Regions from separate parts of the Homo sapiens genome. Here region 1 is linked to region 2. Evidence: promoter capture Hi-C in human tissues and cell types (Jung and others, 2019). All regions are on one chromosome and are shown on one strand. The core of a region is centred on a gene start or on the middle of the fragment in contact, and the rest is flanking DNA. Distances in the headings are between cores, read along the strand shown. Region 1 overlaps VPS26A (VPS26 retromer complex component A). Region 2 holds the start of SUPV3L1 (Suv3 like RNA helicase).

The links. The method cuts DNA at HindIII sites, captures the fragments that hold promoters and counts their contacts. A contact is called where the count stands out against the background at its distance.
Region 1: a fragment that was not itself captured here is called in contact with the fragment with the promoter of SUPV3L1 in region 2 in 1 of the 25 tissues and cell types used here (adrenal gland).

What each region holds. Positions count from the first base shown.
Region 1 is chr10:69,139,408-69,144,391 of GRCh38, reverse strand. The region is part of intron 2 of VPS26A (VPS26 retromer complex component A); the gene reads right to left. Among named protein-coding and RNA genes, the nearest start is that of VPS26A, 18 kb to the right of the region's middle. The HindIII fragment of the contact is 3,189 bases long and covers 277-3,465 here.
Region 2 is chr10:69,177,115-69,182,879 of GRCh38, reverse strand. It overlaps SUPV3L1 (Suv3 like RNA helicase), which reads right to left and starts at 2,646. Exons shown (of 15, transcript NM_003171.5): 1 at 2,318-2,646. The coding sequence starts at 2,588. RefSeq lists an enhancer at 2,562-2,931. The HindIII fragment of the contact is 9,715 bases long and covers 1-5,765 here.

The DNA of each region.
Region 1 (4,984 bases), core at 622-3,121, 38 kb after region 2:
GAATTTTTAGGGTGGTTAAACTATTCTATATGATATCACAATGATGGATACATGACATTATGCATTTATCAAAACCCAGAAAATGTACAACAGAGTAAACCCTAATGTAAACTATGGACTTTAGTTAATAATAATGTGGTAATAATGGTTCAACAATTTTAACAAATGTATCACTCTAATGCAAGATTAGTAACAGTGAATCCATGTGGGGCTGGGGTGAGGAAGAAGGGAGTACACAGAACTCTACTTTCTGCTCAATTTTTCTGAAAATCTAGAATTGCTCTTAAAAGAGCTCTTGAGTATGTATCTAGGAGTAGAACTGCTGGATACAGATAATGCAAACCAGTTTTCTATATAGTTATGTAAGAATCTGAGGCTGGACACAGTGCCTCACACCTGTCATTCCAGCACTTTGGAAGGCAGAGGCAGGAGGATCACTTGAGCCCAGAAGTTTGAGATTAGCCTGGGAAACATGGGGAGACCCCAACTCTACAAAAATAGTAAAATATTAGCTGAGCATGGTGGTGTGTGCCTGTTGTCTGAGCTACTTGGGAGGCTGAGGTGAGAGGATCGCCTGAGCTTGAGAGGTCAAGGCTACAATGAGCCATGACCACATCACTACACTCCAGCCTGGGTGACACAGCAAGACCCTGTCTCAAAAAAATTAAATTTAATTTGAAAACTAAAAGAAAGCAATCTGGGTGATAAAGACTCAAAACCCAGGGTTCTTGAACAATAACTAAAGGAAATAGCATATTTAGCTTAGAGAAGACAGGATAAACAAGACAGTGATGTGGAAAATGCTTAGAGAGAACTCTTACTTAGAAAAGGATTAGATTTATTTTGCGTATCTCTAAAAAGCAGAGTGGATACTGTTAACAGAACAGCAGAATCCCCACACTCTGAAAAGTAGGCATACAGAAACTCACGTCAGGAATATTAAAAAGGAATTTATTCTTGCTGTGGGCGAGATGTCAGACCTCCAAGATCCAACATAATATCTAATATATGAAAGATTTTCATGCAGAGCATCCTACAGTGCAAAGCCAAGTTTGGAAACCAATGAGGCAGTCTAACCTCCTAAACTTATAGGTGAGATCCAGGAAATTAAATGACTGTCCAGAGTTACCTACCAAGACAGCGGTAAAGTTAAGGCTAGATCTTCCAGTGCTAGCCCAGTGATCTTTTTATTACACCAGGACATTTCACAAACCCTAGATTGGTGTGGCAAGATTTGTTCTTAGTGACACATGCTTGGTCGTAAACAACCCGTTGTTTCCTCCTCTTTTTCCTTTAAGCTTTCTTTTCAGCATGTTCACTGATCACCTATTTAATAATCTAAAGATATGTCAGGAACCAATATTAAGTTTACCTGAAACAAACTTTCTACCCCATTTTATAAATAAGGGCTTTTCTTATATTCTAGAACCTCTCTCATTTTCCACAATTACTAAAGGACTCCTAGCAGAGATTTGGTGACCAGTTCTGCAAAATTCTTTCAGTATTATCGCATAGCATTTGTCTGGTATGGTCACCAGGATGTTTGAAAACTAGTTAGTTTATTTTTAATCTTCTTAACCATAACAAAGCTTTCATTCTGTTTTAATTTTTAATGATCCTACCTTTCCCAATTTAAATCTTTTTTTTTTTTTTGAATAGTGGGGGGAAAGCTTTCTTTTGCATTTGTTATATTAAAATAAGTGTGCCAAATGAGCATATTATTTTCTTATTCATCTTATTCTAAATATGAGGTTTAAAATGTCTTTCTTAGCTTTAAAAGCCTCAAGCTCGTTGTCAAGATAGTCTTTCTGAGGTTATTACAAATCTATACCACTTTTTTCATTTTCTTTAGTTATCCTAATTTTACTGAACACAAGATAATCTTTCAAATAATCCTTGGCCAGGCACAGTGGCTCATGCCTATAATCCCAGCACTTTGGGAGGTCAAGGTTGGGGAATCACTTGAGTCCAGGAGTTTGAGACCAGACTGGGCAACACAACAAGACCCTATCTATAAAAAAAAAAAATTTTTTTAATTAGCCAGGCAGGGTGGTTCATATGTCTGCGGTCCCAGCTACTTGGGAGGCTGAGGTAGGAGGATTACTTGGGCCCCCAGGGGGATGAGGCTGCAGTGAGCCGTAATCATGACACTACACTCAGCCTGGGCAACACAGTGAGACCCCACCTCAAAAAAAAAAAAAAAAAAAAAGGCCTGGTATGGTGGCTCACGCCTATAATCCCAGCACTTTGGGAGGCTGAGGCAGGCAGATCATGAGGTCAAGAGATTGAGACCATCCTGGCCAACATGGTGAAACCCCGTCTCTACTAAAAATACAAAAAATTAGCCGGGCGTGGTGGCATGCGCCTGTAATCCCAGCTACTCGGGAGGCTGAGGCAGGAGAATCACTTGAACCCGGGAGGCAGAGGTTGCAGTGAGCCAAGATCGCGCCACGGCACTCCAGGCTGGCAACAGAGCAAGACTGCATCTCAAAAAAAAAAGAGGAATCATTGTATCATTATGAAGAACTTCAGAAGGAATACCTGGGTCATGGTGAGTACTCAGTAAATATTGTTATTATAGCAAACCTCTTTTCATGTGAATGAATACAGATCAATATAATCACATTAATAATGGCCCTAAGCACTTAATGGTTATTACCATAATTAGGTTTTTTAATGTCTGGACATTTAAGTGGCTTTCAATTTTTGAATATTATAAACAGTGAAATGAACAAAGTTGATTATTTTAGGATAAAATCTGATCAGAAGAATCTGTGGATCAAAATAATATTAATCAATACAGGCACTGCTCAAATATTTCCAGCTGCATACATTCTGAGTGCATGGTATGATTGTATTCCCTACCCTCTTGTGGCTGGGTGAGGTACGAACAAGACTGTTTCTAGAGACAATAAATTTGATCAGAAATGCTCTTTGTTACTTCTAGGATGGGGCATTTTAATGGCTTGTGAAAGACTCTGCAGAGATTTCTCTCCCTCAGCCATGATGAGTGTGATGTTCCTGGCTGCTCCATCACTGAGCATGGCACAGAATAAGGCCCTCAGCTAACTCACAAGGAACATGTTGCCTGGGCAAGAAAGAAGCCACTGCCACTGTTGTTTTTAAGTCACTGAGTTTTGGGGTTGTCTCTTACATAGTAATAATCCAGACTATTCTGGCTACTATAAATGATATCCACTTTTGAAGATTTTGATACATATTGCTAAACTGCCAGAATGGTTACACATGGCCTTTTAGAATCTCAGATCAATTTCTGGGAAGATGGCAACATAGTCTTTGAATCTCCCCAGATCGTCACATAAAAACAGATGGACCAACTAGACAGCAAAACCAAAAAAATCTAAGGATCCAATTTACCACAGAAAAAGATAAAGTATTCCCACAATCCCAAAACATAATGCGTAGGGACAAACCAGGTTAATAGCCACAAAACCTGCATGATACTAGGGTTGTGCAGGAGGAATCAAAGAATGCAATGGAGTGTCTGATGGACCTAAGAACTCCCAAATTACTCATATATATTCACTGGAAAGCATGGTGTCAATCTGAGAATAAGAGCTAACGCTGGAAGGAGTTTTGCACAATCCAATAATATTAGAACACTCAAAACTGACCAGTCAGGCCTGCTGTCTAGGATAGGTGGTTAGAAAAACTATCCTAAACCAAACCATCAAAAGTTCAGGAAGGGCCAGGCACAGTGGTTCACACCTGTAATCCCAGCACTTTGGGAGGCTGAGACAGGTGGATCGCCTGAGCTCAGGAGCTCGAAACCAGCCTGGGCAACACGGTGAAACCCCGTATCTACCCCAAAATACCAAAAATAATAATAATAATAATTGGGCGTGGTAGTGTGCCCTGTGGTCCTAGCTGCTCAGGAGGCAGAGATGGGAAGATCGCTTTAGCCTGGGAGACGGAGGTTGCAGTGAGCTGAAATCGTGCCACTGCACTCCAACATGGGTGACAGAGTGAGACTCTATCACGAAAAGACAAAAAGTTCAGGAGAAGGTCGGGTGCAGTGGCTCACATCTCAGCACTTTGGGAGGCCAGGATGGGAGGATCACTTGAGCTCAGGAGTTTGAGACCAGCCTGAGCAACATAGCAAGACCCTGTCTCTACAAAAAATATATATTTTTTAATTAGCTAGGCACAGTGGCACATGCCTGTGGTCCCAGCTACTCGGAAGGCTGAGGTAGGAGGATCGCTTGGGCCTTGGAGGTCAAGGCTGCAGTGAGCCATAGTCATGCCACTGCATTCCAGCCTGGGCAACAGAGCAAGATCTTATCTCAAAAAAAAAAAACATTGGGGAAAACTAATTTCACATAAAAATTAGCAACATAAATATATCAAGGTCAAATCCCATACAAAGTTATTTTAAGAAAAAAAGAGAAGGAACAGAATGGCATTTCTACAGACAAGATAGATCAAAACTGTAATTTATTTCAAAACAGGCTATACGATATTAAGAAAATGATACAATACATGAAAGAAAATCTTAAGCTAGGGTGAGAAAAATCAGAAAAGAATTAGAAATAGAAGTAAAAATCATTTTAGAAATAAAGGATAAGCAGAAGGAATACAAGAGCAAAAAACCACACTCAAACAAGACTCAAAAATACTGATATCAAGAAGAAAACCAAAGCAAAGGAATGGAATAAATACTAATTAATAATGGCTGTAATTCAAGAAAACTTTCCTCAAATGAAAAAACTGTTAACAATACCCTATGCCAGAAGACAATGCAGTAATAATAGATTTAAAACACTCAAGAAGGCCGGGCACGATGGATCATATCTGTAATCCCAGCACTTTGGGAGGCCAAGGCAGGCGGATCACAAGGTCAGGAGTTTGAGACCAGCCTGGCCAATATGGTGAAACCCCATCTCTACTAAAAATTTAAAAACTAGCCAGACATGGTGGTGGGCACCTGTAGTCCCAGCTACTTGGGAGGCTGAGGCAGGAGAAT
Region 2 (5,765 bases), core at 1,397-3,896:
TTTAAGTACCTCAACTTTTTGGGTTATGAGTAGGCAAAAGAGATTGAGAAGTGACAGCTTCTTGTCCTGATTGCTAAGCTAAGTGGAAATCTGACACCTTAACCACATGGCTATATCAGAGTGTAGTAATGCACCATCTTCTGTAGCCCCTCCTGCCATGCTGAAAAATCATTCTAGTAAATTCAACATCTGGACCAATCCCAGTCAAAGGAGATGAAAAATCACCTGGCACACAGACCCAATGAAGTATCTAAGGATTCTCCACCAGAAGAAAATCTAGTGCTGACAAACCCATGTCTTTATTCTATCTTCTTACAGGAAGCAGCAAAGACATTTACATTTTCAGGTGAATTGGAATAGCTGCAGAAAATAAGAATTTATCAATATTTGAATACAATAAGGCAAATTATCTCATCCAAATTACCTTATGCCTTCAAATAATATAAAATAATGGAAAATTGTTCTTTAATGGGTAAACTATTGTTTGAGTTTCAACTCTGCAAGATGAAAAAGTTCTCATCTATTTCGCGACAATGTCAATATACTTAACGCTAGTGAACTATGTGCTTAAAAACAATTAAGACTGGCTGGGTGCAGTGGCTCAGGTCTGTAATCTCAGGGCTTTGGGAGGCCATGGCAGGAGGATCCCTGGAGCCCAGAAGTTTGAGACCAGCCTGGGCAACATAGCAAGACCCCATCTCTACAAAAAATTAAAAAATTATCCAGGCATGGTGATGCACGCCTGTATTCCTAGCTACTTAGAAGGCTGAGCCAGGAGGATTGCTTGAGTCTGGGAGTTGGAGGTTACAGTGAGCTATGATCATACCACTATACTCCAGCTTGGGTAACAGAGCAAGACCCTGTCTCTAAAAAAAAAAAAGTAAAGAAAAAAAAACTAAAAAAAAGCTTAAAAGAGTAAATTTTATGTATTTTTATAATTTAAAAATAAATAATAGTATAATTACATTATTAAAATAACACATTCTCTGCTATGGTTTGAATGTCTTCTCCAAGACTCATATTGAAATTTAATTGCTATTTTAACAGTTGAGAGGTGGAACCTTTAAGAGGTGATTAGGACATGAGGAGTTTGCCTTTGTGAGTGGATTAATGCCATTATCACAGGAGTCAGTTATCACAGGAAAAAAGGATAAGTTCAGCCCCCTTTCTCTGTCTCACAGGCTCATTTGCCTTTCCACCTTCCACCATGTGATGATGCAGCCAAAGGCCCTCATCAGATCCCGGCTCAGAACCATGAGTCAAATACACCTCTATTGTTTATAAATTACTCAGTCTCAGGTATTATGTTATAACAGCAGAAAATAAAGACAGTCTCCCAGCACCAAGTAAAGTGAAAGGCCTTGCTTAACACTGGAAGAATATGTCAAAGAATAACATATACTGTGAGTTCCATCACATGTTTAGTGAAAGTACTGTACTTCTGCTCTGAAAAACATATTGTAGTCTATATTTTAGATTTACAATAGGAGGCACCAATGTCGCTTGTTGAAGTGAGACATTTCTCCTCCTATTCCTGGAGACAATTCTGGATAGCATTTCCTCAATCTCCCAGTTTCATATGGTCAGAGGAAACTCCCTTACCTCCCTAATCATCCCGAAACTCACCTTGAAAACATTCACATGCCTCTCTGTCAACGAATCCATCCAAACTTAAGTTTTGCTGAGCAAAGCCCGCTGCCACTAACTGATGCTACCTCTTCTTTTCTCTCTGGAGCCGGGGACACCCTACCTTGTTCTAGACCTTGTCATGTTCTACCTTGTATTACAGTTCACTTTCCATACACGTGTCCTCCCCCACGATACCGTTACGTTTCTTAAGAGGGGATCTGGATCTGAGTCTGGTTCCTCTTGGCAACCACCACACAGCCTAACAGCGTGGTATGAGTCGGCGCCTCCTCAATGATAAAGAATCCTAAAAGGAGTCTCCGCTGGCTTTTCACTGCCACATCCCATTCGGGGGTGGGAGAGAAACAAAGAATGCAAGAAAGAGCGGGCGTCCACCTAACAACTCAAAAAAGTCAAATCTTCCCAACACATGAGTGTCTAAACCATTCAGAGAGCAGGGCAGTAAAAGGGAAAAGGCCGCTTCTGGGACGAGGCGTTAAGAATTAATCAGATACAGTCCTAAGCCGTTTGAGGGGCTCACACACCAGCGAAGGAGGCAGACACTGAGAGGCACGATGACAACACTCGATGGGACCTCGGATCCCCAGGGGAAGGGGATGTAGCTTCCTCCCAACCAGCCTCGGCCCAGCAGACACCACCCTCTGCCGCCCTCAGTAGTTCCCGCACTCACTCTTGTCCAGAGGCCGGGTTAGCTCGGCCCCGACGTCGCCGTCGGCGCTGGGGCCCTGAGGTTTCACAGTCAGGGGCACGAACAAGGACGTGTTTGGTATTTTGGAGCCACCGGAGGCAGAGGAGGAGGCGGTGGCAAGGACAGAAACTTGCCCCAGAACCCCGGGAAAGGGCCCAAAGTGGGGACGAAGGGCAGAGCAGATGGCTGCCCGGTGGCCAGCCTGGCGCCCCGCCGGGAGCCGAGCCCACAATAGGGCACGGGAGAAGGACATCGAGGCCGCAGGTTCTACACTGTCTGGCGCAGCCGCGGACACGGCGGCGGACAGTGACGCGCACCTCCAGCGCCTGCTGTCCAGAAAGACCCAGGCCGAGCAGGTAAGCTGCCCGGGAAAACGCCTGACCGTTAAGGAAAACGCCGTGCCGTGAGGGTGTTCTTTCAGGGAAAAAGAAGATTAGCAGGCAAAACCACTAGAGATAATTCTCGTTCTCTTTCTCTGTTTTGTTGGTGATTGGGACCACCTTTCCCTAAAGAAGGGAAAATAATCAGGCATCTTTGGGATGTCATACATGAGCGGAGGGGGCCTGCTAGTCGTGTCACGTGATGCAAACTAGTACTTTGGTAAGCAAGTGTCCAGAAGCACGTGGGTGAGCAGTGAGAGAATGGGTGGTGGAGCAGCAACTGCGAATGCTCAGGGTACGAGTATGTCTTGCGGACTCAAACACTAAATAGCATTTCCCAAAAGTTTCTTGCATTGTTAACCGTCATTTCCTGATATGATAACGTTAGCGATAATAACTTGATATGCCCCTCAGAAATGTTGCTAAGAAATATTGTTGCACTATTAAACCCCTTGTATTACGTAAGTACTTTTGCTTTAATGTGAGCAGTTTGCGTACATCATCCTAGCAGCTATGACCACATAGTTGTGACCACATGGCAAAAATACGTGCTCTGTACCCCAGCCATAGTTTCGTTCCATTGCATTTGTTGAATACCGTGTTCTCATGTGAGGCTGCAACATGTTAAATTCACAAGTTTAACCCGGGCGTGGTGGTTCACGCCTGTAATCGCAGCACTTAGGGAGGGCGAGGCCGGTGGATCATCTGAGGTCAGGAGTTCGAGACCAGCCTGGCAAACATGGTGAAATCCCCTCTCTACTAAAAATACAAGAATCAGCCGGGCGTGGTGGTGCACACCTGTAATCCCAATTACTAGGGAGGCGGAGGCAGGAGAATCGTTTGAACCTGGGTGCCAGAGGTTGCAGTGAGCCGAGATCGGGCCACTGCTCTCCAGCCTGGGCAACAGAGTGAGACTCCGTCTAAAAAAAAAAAAAATTCACAAGTTTAGCATCTCCATCCACATCTCTTTATACTTACATCATTAAGATCTTACAACTTGAAGGAACGTGTTATGTAATATACAATACTGTATGTCTAATAGGATTCCAGTAACAATTTGCCACGTGCCTTTGATTCACAAAATAATTTTTAAACATCAGGGATACAAGGAGACAGTCCTTTGCTTTCAAAGGTTCTGATCTGGTTTTGGTGGTAAGAACAGTACACGTTAAATAATGCACTTATTACTCTAATAGACTAATGGCAGTTCAAAGAAAGGAGCAATTTGAGAGTGGTAAGGAGATTTCTGCCAGACTTAAAAGTAAAACATAGAGAAGCGGTAAGTAAATTCTAGTCAGTGGAAACGATGTAAGCAGAGGCTTAACTAAGGAAAAGACATACTGAAAAAAATTTAAGTAACAGAGTTAACGCAGACCTAATTCTATGGCTTACAAATAGTGATTATATTTTTGAGAAGAGAAATCATTCATTAGGAAGTACCTAGGATAGACTAGGATAAACACAAATATGCAGGGAGGAAAATTACAACTTTATCAACAGTTCTAGCTGAAGGTGGTAGATTCCTGTGTCTGAGTTATGATGGAGACCATGTATGTGGAATGAGAGGTTTTACAAGACTCCTTAGATAATGTAGTGAGTGACTAAATATGCTAGAAAATGTTAATAAACAATGATGTCTCGTCAGATTTGGAAACTAGGAGAATGAAGGATAAACCAAACGTTTAATACGTAACTGAGGCAAGCACTATGTTGTTCCTTTTAATCTTTTAATATGCTTGACAACAATTTAGAGGTATTATTGTCACCAGGTTAACTAACTTGCCCCAGTAAGTGGTAGAGTCAGATACAAATCTAAATCTTTTTTTTTTCTTTTTTTTGAGACAGTCTCACTCTGTTGCCCAGGCTGAAGTGCAGTGGTGCAATCATAACTCACTGCAACGTCCACCTCCCAGGCTCAAGCAATTCTCATGCCTCAGCCTCCCGAGTAGCTGGGACTACAGGCTTGCACCACAATACCTGGCTAATTTTTGTATTCTCTTTAGTTTCACCATGTTGGCCAGGCTGGTCTCAGAACTCCTGGCCTCAAGTGATCCAGCTGCCTCGGCCTCCCAAAGTGCTGGGATTACAGGTGTGAGCCACCGTGCCCAGCCAGTCTTTCTGATTTCAAAGCAAATAGGTGGGCTTTTTGGACAGGAGCAGCATATTAGGCCAGAATCAACATTTGTACGAGTCTTTTTTTTTCTTTGGAAGGGTGATCGTGAACTCCTGGGCTCAAGCAATCCTGTGTCAGCCTCCTGAGTAACTGGAACTACAGGTGCATGCCACAGCACCTGGCAGTTACTAGTCTTACAGATCTAGCCCAACCCTAGTATAGTTTTACAGAAAAAAAAAATCCTCAAAACTATTTTAACTGTAATTTTGTTTGCACCTCCTTGCAGGTAGAAAATGCAATCTGAATTTTATGATAGCACATACAGGCTTTCCCTTTCAGCCATTCATTAAGTTCTACTATAAACATTGAAATGGGAAAATTCAATATAAAATTTTTGCTTTTACAAAAAAAGATGTCATATCTATACTGGTTATGTCATATTTATAGCAGTAAGTGTAATCAGCACCTAACACATATTAGAGCCTCTATAAATGTTTTATTTTGCTTGTTGAATGGATTAATGCAGTAACTATGTAACTGGTATCCTCCTATACTTTGCCGTAGCACCATAATGATCTTTTGAAAACACAAATCTGGTAAGTTACTCCTGCTTAGAGTCCTTTGGTGATTCTGAATAAATGTTCAGATAAAGCCCATATTCCATCGTATGGCATCCAGGTTCTGTCCTAAATTGGTTGGCCCTATATGCCTCTTCCAGCTTTATTTCTACTCCCCACATCTACCATTCTATTCATGCTGGAACTATACACCAGTTATATCATCGTTTCTTACCTCTGCACCTCTGAACACACTGGGTGCTTCTCTTACATATCACAGGTCCCAGTAGAGGCTCTATCATAGAATGAAAACTATCGTAATTGTGTCTCTGGGTCAGTGGTTCTTAAACGTTAGAGTGCAACAAGATTGTTGGGCCCCA